Regions from separate parts of the Homo sapiens genome. Here all the other regions are linked to region 2. Evidence: promoter capture Hi-C in 16 types of primary human blood cells and fetal thymus (Javierre and others, 2016). All regions are on one chromosome and are shown on one strand. The core of a region is centred on a gene start or on the middle of the fragment in contact, and the rest is flanking DNA. Distances in the headings are between cores, read along the strand shown.

Region 1 (2,700 bases), core at 125-2,624, 350 kb before region 2:
AACAAGTTGAATTTCAGATGTCAGGGAAATATGCAGAGAAGCACATGAATCTGGAGCTCACAAGGGAGTTCTGTGCTAAATATACACATCCATGAGTCACTGAGACGAGCCCCAGGGAAGAGTAAAGTTGAGGCCTAGATTATAACCCAGCACACTACCATATTTCAAGGTCCTGTAAAGAAGGGAGACCCACAAAAGAACAAGGAGGAAAAAAGAAAAAAACAGAACTATGGAGTTAACGAAAGGGGTGGAAAAAAAGAGGGACTATGTAACTAATGTGAAGACATCAGGTAAAATGAGGGTTGAAAAGTGATTTAGGTTCTCAAGGGCATGAGTGGTCTTAGCAGGGGCCATTTCAGTGCTGTGGTGGGTAGAGACATTATGTTACAGTGAGTGGAGGAGTGAGGGAGTATAGGGTCAGTGAGTGGCAGAATGAGTGGACAATGAGTGAGCGAAAAGAAAGTGCATGGAAGAGTGAGTGAGTGGAGGAGTGAGTGAGTGGAAGAGTGAGTGGAGGAGTGAGTGGAGAAGTGAGTGAGTGGGGGAGTGAGTGAGTGGGGGAGTGAGTGAGTGGAGGAGTGAGTGAGTGGAAGAGTGAGTGGAGGAGTGAGTGGAGAAGTGAGTGAGTGGGGGAGTGAGTGAGTGGGGGAGTGAGTGAGTGGAGGAGTGAGTGAGTGGAAGAGTGAGTGGAGGAGTGAGTGGAGAAGTGAGTGAGTGGGGGAGTGAGTGAGTGGGGGAGTGAGTGAGTGGAGGAGTGAGTGAGTGGAAGAGTGAGTGGAGGAGTGAGTGAGTGGAGAAGTGAGTGGGGGAGTGAGTGAGCAGAGGAGTGAGTGAGTGGAAGGTGAGTGAGTGGAGGAGTGAGTGGAACGTGAGTGAGTGGAGGAGTGAGTGGAAGGTGAGTGAGTGGAAGGTGAGTGAGTGGAAGGTGAGTGAGTGGAAGGTGAATGAGTGGGGGAGTGAGTGAGTGGAAGGTGAGTGAGTGGAGGAGTGAGTGAGTGGAGGAGTGAGTGGAAGGTGAGTGAATGGAAGGTGAGTGAGTGGAAGGTGAGTGAGTGGAAGGTGAGTGAGTGAGTGAGTGGAAGGTGAGTGAGTGGAGGAATGAGTAAGTGCAGGAGTGAGTGAGTGGAGGAGTGAGTGACTGGAAGGTGAGTGAGTGGAAAGTGAGTGAGTGGAGGAGTGAGTGAGTGGAAGGTGAGTCAGTAGGGGAGTGAGTGAGTGGAAGGTGAGTGAGTGGAAGGTGAGTGAGTGGAGGAGTGAGTAACTGGAGGAGTGAGTGAGCGGAGGAGTGAGTGAATTGAAGATGAGTGAGTGGAAGGTGAGTGAGTGGAAGGTGAGTGAGTGGAGGAGTGAGTGAGTGGAAAATGAGTGAGTGAAAGATTAGTGAGTGAAGGAGTGAGTGATTGGAACATGAGTGAGTGGAGAAGTGAGTGATGAAAGGTGAGTTAGTGGGGGAGTGAGTGAGTGGAAGGTGAGTGAGTGGAAGATGAGTGAGTGGAACGTAAGTGAGTGGAAGATAAGTGAGTGGAAGGTGAGTGAGTGGAACGTGAGTGAGTGGAAGATGAGTGAGTGGAAGGTGAGTGAGTGGAGGAGTGAGTGAGTGGAAAATGAGTGAGTGGAAGATGAGTGAGTGGAGGAGTGAGTGAGTGGAAGATGAGTGAGTGGAGGAGTGAGTGATGGAAGGTGAGTGAGTGGGGGAGTGAGTGAGTGGAAGGTGAGTGAGTGGAAGGTGAGTGAGTGGAGGAATGAGTAACTGGAGGAGTGAGTGAGTGGAGGAGTGAGTGAGTGGAAGATGAGTGAGTGGAAGATGAGTGAGTGGAGGAGTGAGTGAGTGGAAGGTGAATGAGCGAGTGGAGGAGTAAGTGGAAGGTTAGTGAGTGGAAGAAGTGTGTGGAGACAAAGATTGCTGACAAGAACTCATAGTATTTCGCTGTGTTGTGCGGGATCTCCATGCTGAGAAAGATGTAGTGTCCCTGTAGGCTGCATGGTAAGCCACGGTTTCAGGCAGGCGCACAGGTGTGCCCGGTGGAGAGTAGTGGTTTTTCAGCCACCAGTACGGACTGATTCTTCGGTAACAAAACTTGCTCCTGTTGACTCCTATCCTGTGTTAATTTTTAAAAGTTTTCCTAATGACTGCTGAATGAGTAATACTCTGGGTCAGATTTTTTTTTTTTTTTTTTTTTTTTTTTTTTTTTTTGATGGCGTCTGGCTCTGTCACCCAGGCTGGAGTGCAGTGGCGCGATCTCAGCTCACTGCAAGCCCCTCCTCCCAGGTTCACTTCATTCTCCTGCCTCAGCCTCCCAAGTAGCTGGGACTACAGGCGCCCGCCACCACGCCCGGCTAATTTTTTGTATTTTTAGTAGAGACGGGCTTTCACTGTGTTAGCCAGGATGGTCTGGATCTCCTGACCTCGTGATCCGCCCGTGTCGGCCTCGCAAAGTGTTGGGATTACAGGAGTGAACCACCGCACCCGGCCCTATTCTGGGTCAAATTTTACAATTTTTCTTCTGGTTGGACCTGTCTGTCTTATACATAACTGATGGTTTTGGCTCCCTATAATAATGTAGAATTCATGTCTATATTTCCGTTTCAGGCCTTTTGGTCCATAAGAAAATCTGTTGTTTTAGATAAGCGAAGTGAAGACTATGCTGAGGTTATGTGCGTGCATTTAATTAATGTGTAGCATCTCGTTTTGTGGCACTT
Region 2 (2,700 bases), core at 31-2,530:
CAATCCGCACAATGCCAGTTCCAGGGTCCTGGGGTCGCCCGGAAGGCAATCTTAGGAGAGGGTGGAATGAGATGGAAGTTCCTGCGGACCTACCGATCCTATTCTCTCCCACCCAGTCCCTAGGGAAGCGTAATAGGAAGGGGAGAAGGTTCGTTATGAAATCCTGGGGCCAGAACCAAGGGCAGATACACCCCGGGGACTTTCTCCTAAAGAACAAGATGTCTTTCCAAATTCTCCACCTGCAGGTCCTGTCCTCTGTGAAGATGAACGGGGTGGGGTGGTGAGGTGGCGGGGTGTTGTAAACCTGAGGAAAGGTTGGAGGGAAAATCAAGCCACCCACCTACTCCAGCCACGTTGCCCGGCGGTGTTGGTGAGGCTCGATGCCGGCGTGCACGGCAAGCGCGAATTCGGAACCTGGCGCCCTTGACCAAGCCTGAGATCGGAAAGGGGGCATCGCCCAGGGCCAGCGCCCTGGGGGCAGGGTGCCGTGCCCGCCAGAAAAGCTCGCCTCAGTTTTGGCAGTAATGATTTTCCTAGAAGATGCCAGAGTTCGCGAAGATCGGAGTGATTCGCGGATTTCTGCGCTCAAGCTAGAGGCGCAGCGACCCCGAGCTCCCCCACACTGGGAGCCTCGGGGCAGCATTCTCGGGGCCCATGCCATCGCGGGGACGGTGCGGAAAAAAAGGCTCCATCCTCAACTTTCTCGGAGGAAATCGCTCCGTTCTGCGGCTTGCCCAATACTGCCCGCACAACGGGTCCCAGGGTTGGAGAGAACCAGGGACACGAGTCCCTCTCTGCGCGCACAAAGCAGCTGCGCCGGGGCGCGCGGCCCCCTCTCCCGCCACCCGCCAACTTGGAAGAATCTCTCTGGGAGCCTGCCTACTCCCCTGGCCTCACAGCCACCCGCCTCGGACGGAGCGCCAGGCGCCCCAACAGCCGTGGCGGCTGCAACCGCATCTCCCGGGCTTGGCCTCCGCCCTGACCGCCTGGCTCCCCTCGCCCCGGTCCTACCGTGCAGCCTGGCTCGCGCCCCTGCCGTGCCAGTGCGCGGCACGCGTCCCAGAGCACGAGGCTCCTCCCCGGGGGGCTGCCCCGCGCGGGGCTCCGGGCTCCGGACAAGGCTTAGCCGGCCCGGGTGCTGGCTCGCCGCCGCTCGCGGCTCCCGCGCCGGCTCCTGCTGCCGCGCGCGAAAAGGGAGGGGTTGGGGGGAAACTCCCGGCAACTCCAACTCCGGGCGCTGGAGCTCCAGCTGCAGCCGCGCGCCCGCCCGCCGCCGAGTGCGAGCGCCTGCGAAGCAAACCTGCCCGCGCGGCCGCCTCTGAGCATGCTCAGTGCCGCCGTGGGCGAGCCCGAGCGCCCTGGCCCGGGGCAAAGAGCAGCGGCTAGGGGCTGGGGGCTGGGGGCCGGGACCCGCGACCCGCCCCAGGCCTCGGAGCGCGGAGGTGGCAGAGGAAGGGAAAGGCCAATGTAGGGGCGGGGGCCCTGAGCCAAAGACCCGGGAGAAACCGATCTGGGTGCAAGAGCCGGTGCGACTTTCACGGCTTGTGGGAAGTTTGTGGGCTAGAAAGGTGGGCTGCTTCTGTGAGCTTCTCTGTGAGACTATATTCGAAAGGACAACCAGGAAACATTTTTTTTTTTCTCTAGGAAAAAACGAATAGACCCAGCCGATGGGTTTTTATCCTGTGCGCTCCTTCCTTTATTCTTACGATAGCAAACTCAAAGATCTAATGGGGCCTGACAGGCACTGTAACTGGGGGAAGGCGAACTGGAGAGAGCTCCGAAGGCAGGGCCGCTTATCTGCTCTCAGGGTCCCTTGCTATCGGGCAAGAATTAGACCTAGTGTTGCTAGATTTTCTGATTTTTCCAGAAATGACGGAGTATATTCATGTACAATATCCTGATTTGTAAAATCTTGATAACAAATTCAATTTTCTCAAAACACCCTGGACTAAACAAAACATATCTGCGTCCCCTCCCTGCTGAACCCCCCAGACAGTGATTTGAGCATTGTGATTCTGCACTCTTTTAGCGAAGTGGTGCTGAGTGCTCACTGTGGTTTGGGAAAGTGCTGGAAAGGATCCAAGATGATTCAGAATATCTTCGAAGTACTACTAGTTACTAGGGGAAATGGGTTTTCCTGACAGTAGAGCGCTACACTTAAATGCTGGAGCGTTCAAGAAGAAAGACGTTACTAATGTAGAAAGCGGTTGTAAGAACTAACTTTTGGGAAACATCATTAGTAAAAGTATCTGTGTGGGGAGTCACTGCAGGGCCGATAACAGTGCCCCGGAAGGCACTTTTGAGCCTGAAGCAATAGGAAAAACCCCTAAACTTACCCTGTCTTTATTTAAAATTTTGTTATTTTTCATCATGCATTTTTGATATTAATTTTGATTTTTTTAAATATTCCATTAAAATATTAACCTTGATTACTGAATTCTTTGGTGAACCTTTAAGTGCTGTGACTCACCTCACCCTAGCCTGGCCCTGTTGGGGTGTTAGATGGTGGTACACAGACCTGCTTGTTTGGAGTGCAAGGGGTAAGCATTAGCATAGTGAAATAGGAAAGAGGGTTTGAGCTGTGGATGGGGGCTCAGGCAGAAGTCCTGACTGTCAGTCTGTGGCTCCTGCACTTAGTTTGTAGACTACGTGGAGATAGCAGAGATGCTGGGGGAGGAGACAATCCGAACTGAATTCTGT
Region 3 (2,700 bases), core at 57-2,556, 290 kb before region 2:
CAATAAACATACGTGTGCATGTGTCTTTATAGTAGCATGATTTATAATCCTTTGGGTATATACCCAGTAATGGGATCGTTGGGTCAAATGGTATTTCTAGATCTAGATCCTTGAGGAATCGCCACACTGTCTTCCACAATGGTTGAACTAGTTTCCACTCCCACCAACAGTGTAAAAGCATTCCTATTTCTCCACATCCTCTCCAGCATCTGTTGTTTCGTGACTTTTTAATGCTCGCCATTCTAACTGTTGTGAGATGGAATCTCATTGTTGTTTTGATTTACATTTCTCTGATGGCCAGTGATGATGAGCGGTTTTTTGTGTGTCTGTTGGCTGCATAAATGTCTTCTTTTGAGAAGTATCTGTTCATATCCTTTGCCCACTTTTTGATGGGATTGTTTGTTTTTTCTTGTAAATTTGTTTAAGTTTTTTGTAGATTCTGGATATTAGCCCTTTGTCAGATGGATAGATTGCAAAAATTTTCTCCCATTCTCTAGGTTGCCTGTTCACTCTGATGGTAGTTTCTTCTGCTGTGCAGAAGCTCTTTAGTTTAATTAGATCCCATTTGTCAATTTTGGCTTTTGTTACCATTGCTTTTGGTGTTTTAGACATGAAGTCCTTGTCCATGCATATGTCCTGAATGGTATTGCCTAGGTTTTTCTTCTAGGGTTTTTATGATTTTAGGTCTAACATTTAAGTCTTTAATCTATCTTGAATTAATTTTTGTATAAGGTGTAAGGAAGGGATCCAGTTTCAGCTTTCCACATATGGCTATCCAGTTTTCCCAGCACCATTTCTTAAATAGGGAATCCTTTCCCTATTGCTTGTTTTTGTCAGGTTTGTAAAAGATTAGATGGTTGTAGATGTGTGATGTTATTTCTGAGGCCTCTGCTCTGTTCCATTGGTCTACATCTTTATTTTGGTAACAGTACCATGCTGTTTTGGTTACTGTAGCCTTGTAGCATAGTTTGAAGTCAGGTAGCTTGATGCCTCCAGCTTTGTTCTTTTGGCTTAGGATTGACTTGGCAATGCGGGCTCCTTTTTGGTTCCATATGAACTTTAAAGTAGTTTTTTCCAATTCTGTGAAGAAAGTCATTGGTAGCTTGATGGGGATGGCATTGAATCTATAAATTACCTTGGGCAGTGTGGCCATTTTCACAATATTGATTCTTCCTACCCATGAGCATGGAATGTTCTTCCATTTGTTTGTGTCCTCTTTTATTTCCTTGAGCAGTGGTTTGTAGTTCTCCTTGAAGAGGTCCTTCACATCCCTTGTAAGTTGGATTCCTAGGTATTTTATTCTCTTTGTAGCAGTTGTGAATGGGAGTTTACTCATGATTTGGCTCTCAGTTTGTCTGTTATTGGTGTATAAGAATGCTTGCGATTTTTGTACATTGATTTTGTATGCTGAGACTTTGCTGAAGTTGCTTATCAGCTTAAGGAGATTTTGGGCCGAGACGATGGGGTTTTCTAAATATGCAATCATGTCATCTGCAAACAGGGACAATTTGACTTCCTCTTTTCCTAATTGAATACCCTTTATTTCTTTCTTTTGCCTGATTGCCCTGGCCAGAACTTCCAACACTATGTTGAATAGGAGTGATGAGAGAGGGCATCCCTGTCTTGTGCCAGTTTTCAAAGGGAATGCTTCCAGTTTTTGCCCCTTCAGTATGATACTGGCTATGGGTTTGTCACAAATAGCTCTTATTATTTTGAGATACGTTCCATCAATACCTAGTTTATTGAGAGTTTTTAGCATGAAGCACTGTTGAATTTTGTCTAAGGTCTTTTCTGCCTCTATTGAGATAATCATGTGGTTTTTATCATTGGTTCTTTTTATGTGATGTATTACATTTATTGATTTGTGTATATTGAACCAGCCTTGCATCCCAGGGATGAAGCCCACTTGATCATGTTTGATAGCTTTTTGATGTGCTGCTGGATTCGGTTTGCCAGTATTTTAAAATTTGAACTCATGATTAAGAAACTCACTCAAAACCACTAAACTACATGGAAACTGAACAACCTGCTCCTGAATGACTACTGGGTACATAATGAAATGAAGGCAGAAATAAAGATGTTCTTCAAAACCAATGAGAACAAAGACACAACGCACCAGAATCTCTGGGACACATTTAAAGCAGTGTGTGGAAGGAAATTTATAGCACTAAATGCCCACAAGAGAAAGTAGGGAAGATCTAAAATCAATACCCTAACATCACAATTAAAAGAACTAGAGAAGCAAGAGCAAACGCATTCGAAAGCTAGCAGAAGACAAGAAATAACTAAAATTAGAGCAGAACTGAAGGAGCTAGAGACACAAAAAACCCTTCAAAAAATCAATGAATCCAGGAGCTGGTTTTTCGAAAAGATCAACAAAATTGATAGACTGCTAGCAAGACTAATAAAGAAGAAAAGAGAGAGGAATCAAATAGATGCAGTAAAAAATGATAAAGGGGATATCACCACTGATCCCACAGAAATACAAACTACCATCAGAGAATACTGTAAACTCCTCTTTGTGAATAAACTAGAAAATCTAGAGGAAATGGATAAATTCCTGGACACATACACCCTCCCAAGACTAAACCAGGAAGAAGTTGAATCCCTGAATAGAACAATAACAGGCTCTGAAATTGAGGCAATAATTAATAGCCTACCAAACAAAAAAATTCCAGGACCAGATAGATTTACAGCCGA
Region 4 (2,700 bases), core at 115-2,614, 410 kb before region 2:
AGTAGCATATCCATCACCTGAAACATTTATTATTTTTTTGTGTTGGGAACCTTCAAAATCCTCTCTTCTAGTTCTTTGAAAATATACTATAAATTATTGTTACCTATATTCACTCTACAGTGCTATAGAGCAGTAGAACTCATTCCTCTTATCTAACTGTAACTTGAATCCATTAGCCAACCTCTCCTTCCCTTCCTCTATCCCTTTCCCAGCTTCTAATAATTCTACTCTCTACTTCCACAATTCTACTCTCTGCTTCTATGACTTCATTTTTTTTTTTTTTTTAGATGGAGTCTTACTGTGTCACCCAGGCTGGAGTGCAGTGGCATGATCTCAGCTCACTGCAACCTCTGCCTCCTGGGTCCAAGCGATTCTCCTGCCTCAACCTACTGAGTAGCTGGGATTACAGGTGCCCACCACCGCACCCGGCTAATTTTTGTATTTTTAATAGAGACAGGGTTTCATCATGTTGGCGAGGCTGGTTTTGAACTCCTGACCTCAGGTGATCTGCCTGCCTCGGCCTCCCAAAGTGCTGGGATTACAGGCCTAAGCCACCGCGCCCGGCCTATGACCTCAATTTTTTTTTTTGGCTCCTATATATGAGTTAGAAAGTGGTATTTATGTTTCTGTGTCTGAATTATTTCACTTAGCATAATGACCTCCAGTTCCATCCATGTTGCTGCAAATGACAGGATTTTCTTCTTTTCATGGCTGAATAGTACTCCATTGTGTCTGTATACTACATTTTCTTTAGCCATTCATCTGTTGATAGTCACTTAAATGATTTCATATCTTGGCTATTGTGAATAGTGCTGTGATAGTTTTCATTTCCAAGATGGTAGATTAAAGTCATTGTTAGCATGCCTCTCTTATTTGGAAAGACAAAATAGTGTGTAGAGATTCACGCTGTGAACTTTTTTTCCAGGAAGCAACACAGGAGCTTAAGAGGAAAATTGAAAGAAACCACAGACCCTTTGAAAGAAGTGGCAAACTGCAGCTTACACCATGAGCCAGGCAGAAAACTCTGAGTCCTCAGAGTGTGAAAGGAAGAGAAACTGCCTCTGGGATATGCACTCCCACTGGGGAACCTGGCAATCCAGGCCACGGGGAAGACCTTAACCCTACCCAGTGCTGGAGCTGATTTAATGAGCTGAGGGGAGTATATGAGAAGGAGCAGCTTCAGGATGTGCTTTGCTTGCACTCCTAGACTCTACTGGGGACAGAGGGAAGCCATTCCTGATCCTACCTCACAGAGGACCATGCAGAAGTCAGCCAACTAGCTCAGGCGGTGGCCATGGGCTGAGAGGAGTGAGAAGCTCCCAACTGAGATTCACAATATAATCTCTAGCAGGGATGGACCTCCTTGACCAGAACTGAGGGGCAAGTGGGAAGTGCGCTGTGCCCACAGGTGTAGGAGCTGGGTGCCCCTGCTTCGCTAGCAGATCAGGAGGGGCATGGCCTGAGCAGTTTTTGTCTTGGCAGCCAGAGAAGGCTTATGGTCTGGGACAGTTTTGAGTGCTGAATGCAGCCTGCTTGCAACCTAGATGGCCGCTGCCAGTAGAACACTGTGGGTCTGAGACCTGTCTTGCCAAGTGCATAGGGGCTGAGTGGGGCTTACTGCCACCTGTACTCCCCACTTCCTGTGTGGACTCTTCTGTGCGGCAGGGGCAACTGCACTCCTCCCTGGAACATTATCCCAGCATCCAGAGAACTGCCCTCTGATCCCCACTGGGCCACTGATTGCACCTGCACGTGGATAGCCAGAGCGCGAACTTGCCTGACTCAGCCCCGACCTGGTTTGCCTTTTTACCCACCCTGGTAGCTTAACACAAAGGACAGAAACTTTCGGGAGTGTTATGGACCTGCCCATTGCTTGAGACACCAGAGTACCTCCCCTGGTCACATAAGCCAAGCATGAATTCCACCACTACTACTGCAGTCAGTGCTCTTTCGCACCAACTGCACCTCCTGGCTATAGGCCAATCAACATAGTCCATTACAACATCTGTAGGCAGAATAACACAGCACTGGGAAGGAGAAAACTTTTGCATGACTACAGCTACCACCATTGCCTGCATCACCCTGGCTAACCAGGAGGTCTTGAGTCTGTTCACATGACCAGATCATTACTACTACAACTGAAATTAGAGAAAGCCAGCACACTAAGGCTATTTGTAACCAAAGAATCTCACAGAGTTTACTTTACTCCTCTGCCAGCCCCATCAGAGCTGGTGCTGGTACCCACTGCTGGGAGACTTGAGGATAAGTCACATCGCTGGACCCTTTGCAGACATTCCCTAGCACAGGCCTGGAATGTAGCAGCCCCATTGGGTGGCCAGATCCAGAGCCGCAGCAGCAATCATAGTAGTCTGGCACTCAGGGACTCCTACTCCTAGGGTAAGCAGGAGTGCACCACATGAAGGGAGCACCCTGTGGGACAAAGGAATCCAGATGGCAGGCTTTGAGTCTCAGAACTTTACAATTGTGGGAAATTTCTTTCAGCAGAGAGACAGGTGCAGTGCTGGGCTCAGTGGGGAAGTCTGTGGCTCTACCTCACCAGTCAGGCAGCCCTGGTGCTTGTGAAGGGTCTTGGAGAATAGGACTTCTCCCCCTCATGCACCACTGCTGACACAGCTGGGGTTTCTCACAAAGGAACTCGGCATGAGTGCACCTGTAGACAGCCTTTCTGGGACCCTTCAG
Region 5 (2,700 bases), core at 155-2,654, 270 kb before region 2:
TGGAGGGCTAGGGGAGGGATAGCATTAGGAGAAATACTTAATGTAGATGACAGGTTGATGGGTGCAGCAAACCACCATGGCACGTGTATACCTATGTAACAAACCTGCATATTCTGCACATGTATCCCAGAACTTAAAGTATAATAGTAATAAAATAAAAAAAAGTGCTGTGTGGTTAGAGAGAGATCTATATGCCTGTATTATTTAGGAAAACTGTTAAAAATGCTCAAACAATCAGGGAGTAAATATCACTGTTAAGAAGGAGAAAAGGGAGGACTCAAAAATGTTGCCTGTTATAAGGTCAATTTTAGCCCTGAATCTGGATGTTTACATGTATGTGAGTGTGTATAGAGATCCATTTTCGCAGAAGGCCAATAAACTTTAAAGACTGATAAGATAACAAAAAAATCCTGTGTTGATTTTGGGGATTGAATATGAGCCAGAAGGAAATATCTGGTGAAGAGGAGAGGTCAGCACTCATGGAGCTAGATGTTCGCTGGGGCTAGGATTAGTGAATAAGTTACTTCGGAAATTACATACACAGATGTTTCCTGCCTAAATGGTGACCTAATATGTGATGCTGGCTCCTTCCTCTGAACCAACCCCAAAGTTGTCATATAAACAAGTTGGATGCATCTAATAACACAGCATAAAACCCCCACAAAAGGTAAAAAGATACTGGTGAGGCAGACGGTGATTGGGTCTCAGGGTATGTAATGATGGGGCAGGGGTGGGGGCAGTGAGTGTGAAGAGGGGTAGAGGATCTGGTGCCAAGATTGGGAACAGACTACAGAAAAGAGTTTTCTGGTTATATCTTGATCATTCTCTCACATTGCTACAAGCAGAAAATTTCTTGCCAGGCAGAAAAACAGCCCTGCTGGCTTAGCAGCAGCTAGAAGCATCAGGGTAACGTCAGAGCAGTGTTAGAGCCCACCTGGGTGGAGAGCAGATAAAACTGGGTCAGGCAGAAGTCCTGATGCCTTCAGCACCCATGCTCTTAATCTTTATACTATGGAATGCGAAGGGCTGGAGAAAGAGGGACCCTCTCTCATATACTCACTATCAGCCAAGGCAGTTGATATTCTCAGGTCCCTCTTCTCCAGCCCTCCCCACTCTGTAGTATAGAGATTAAGAACATGGGCTCTGAAGCTAAACTGCCTAGATTTTAATGCTGTCCCCATCATTTACTTCTCTGTGACTTCAGGAAACTTCCTTTTTTTCTCTGTTTCTCATCTCTAAAGTGGCCATAATATTACCCACCTTTTAGGTGGTTTAAAAGATGCAATACATGTAAAAGTACTTAAAACTGAAACTGATACATACTAAGTGCTCAAGCAGTCTTAGCTACTATTCTGAAAACTGGAGGATGTAGTTTGAGGGGCGAAGTAACTTATTTGGGAGTTGGGGAGTATCTAGGAAATGGTGCCCAGAAATTTTGTTTTCTTGCACCGTGCCAGCTCCCAAACTCACCAGCGGAGGCATAAGCAAGGACCTCAGCCTTCGGCCCTGAGCAAGGACCCTTTCTTTCATAAGCCCACTATCAGCCAAGGCAGTTGATATTCTCAGGGTAATATGAGTCTTAGAGAAAAGGTGACAATATATCTGCACCCTCAAATAAAGCAACAAAAGGAAACCAGAAAGCAAAGACTCAGACTTAATAAACCAGACAGAACCAAATTTAAAATAAGTATAGGAAGTACTCTATACTAGGATAATATGGTATAAGATAATATCCTATACTAGGGTAACGGAGGATTCTGGAGACAGGAAGCAAAAACAGTCAAAGAAAAACTGACTGAAGATGCTAGGAATGAAAAATATAATTGTTAACATAAGGAACTCAACAGATCACTTGAGAACAAAACAGAATGCACGTAGTCATGAAATGAACACATAAAGTAAAAAATCAGGTCAAGAACCCTCCCACAGAGATTAAAACAGTTAAACAAACTATCCAAGTAAAAGTTAAGAGACATGAAGGAGAAAAATAGAAGTTAATATTTGTATGTTAGGGGTCTCAGAGGGAGAGAGCAAAAATAAGTATCGGTGAGAAAATACTTTGAAAAGTCATCAAGATTTTTTCAGAATTAAAGGATGATGTGGTAGATTTTGCAAAAATGGCCCCCACGTTGTTTCACCTCCCTACAGCCATGCGCGTTGGTAGTCCTCTCCCAGACCACATTCTAGGCGTAGCCAGGTGACTTGTTTTAGCCAATGAGAAAAGGGCAAAATTGACGCAAGCAGAGATTTGAAAAGGGCGGCACACTGGGACTTACCATCTTTTGTTGCTTTCTGAAGCTGAGCCACTCTGTGAGTGAGCCCAAGCTAGCCAGATGGATGATGAGAAACACATGGCCCAGTGGCCCTCATTCTTTTATTATTCGCTGACTGCCAATTGACACTAGAAGCAGAGCCATTTAGCTGACAAGTAGCTGACTGTGAAGAGCCACGAGCAGAACCCAGCCCAAATTGTTAACCCATAGAATCACAGAAAACGAAAAGGTTGCTTGTTAAGCCACCAAGTTCTGGCATGTTTATTATACAGCAACGGAAAGCTGATATACAATATGTTAATATCTCAGGCTGAAAGGGCTTGTAGAGTGCTAAACAAGATGGATTTTAGAAATACATACACATTTAGAAGAAGAACACAAAAGACAAAGAAAAAATTCTAAATTCTTTTCGGTAAAAGAAAAAAGC

Evidence for each region. The method cuts DNA at HindIII sites, captures the fragments that hold promoters and counts their contacts. A CHiCAGO score of 5 or more calls a contact.
Region 1: a fragment that was not itself captured here is called in contact with the fragment with the promoter of STXBP6 in region 2 in 3 of 17 cell types (monocytes, M1 macrophages and M0 macrophages); the score reaches 7.4 in monocytes.
Region 3: a contact is called between a fragment that was not itself captured here and the fragment with the promoter of STXBP6 in region 2, in 4 of 17 cell types (M1 macrophages, M0 macrophages, monocytes and 1 more). The highest score is 8.2, in M1 macrophages.
Region 4: a fragment that was not itself captured here is called in contact with the fragment with the promoter of STXBP6 in region 2 in 1 of 17 cell types (monocytes); the score reaches 5.2 in monocytes.
Region 5: a contact is called between a fragment that was not itself captured here and the fragment with the promoter of STXBP6 in region 2, in 2 of 17 cell types (M2 macrophages and endothelial precursors). The highest score is 5.2, in M2 macrophages.

What each region holds. Positions count from the first base shown.
Region 1 is chr14:24,695,652-24,698,351 of GRCh38, forward strand. No RefSeq gene overlaps it. Among named protein-coding and RNA genes, the nearest start is that of GZMB, 63 kb to the left of the region's middle. The HindIII fragment of the contact is 3,642 bases long and covers 1-2,700 here.
Region 2 is chr14:25,048,867-25,051,566 of GRCh38, forward strand. It overlaps STXBP6 (syntaxin binding protein 6), which reads right to left and starts at 1,281. Exons shown (of 6, transcript NM_001394410.1): 1 at 1,012-1,281. It overlaps LOC124903295 (a long non-coding RNA gene), which reads left to right and starts at 1,478. Exons shown (of 2, transcript XR_007064091.1): 1 at 1,478-1,568. The HindIII fragment of the contact is 7,485 bases long and covers 1-2,700 here.
Region 3 is chr14:24,754,255-24,756,954 of GRCh38, forward strand. No RefSeq gene overlaps it. Among named protein-coding and RNA genes, the nearest start is that of GZMB, 120 kb to the left of the region's middle. The HindIII fragment of the contact is 5,821 bases long and covers 1-2,700 here.
Region 4 is chr14:24,642,340-24,645,039 of GRCh38, forward strand. It overlaps GZMH-AS1 (GZMH and GMZB antisense RNA 1), which reads left to right. Exons shown (of 3, transcript XR_007064087.1): 3 at 926-2,700. Among named protein-coding and RNA genes, the nearest start is that of GZMB, 9.5 kb to the left of the region's middle. The HindIII fragment of the contact is 5,423 bases long and covers 1-2,700 here.
Region 5 is chr14:24,773,854-24,776,553 of GRCh38, forward strand. No RefSeq gene overlaps it. Among named protein-coding and RNA genes, the nearest start is that of GZMB, 140 kb to the left of the region's middle. The HindIII fragment of the contact is 4,019 bases long and covers 1-2,700 here.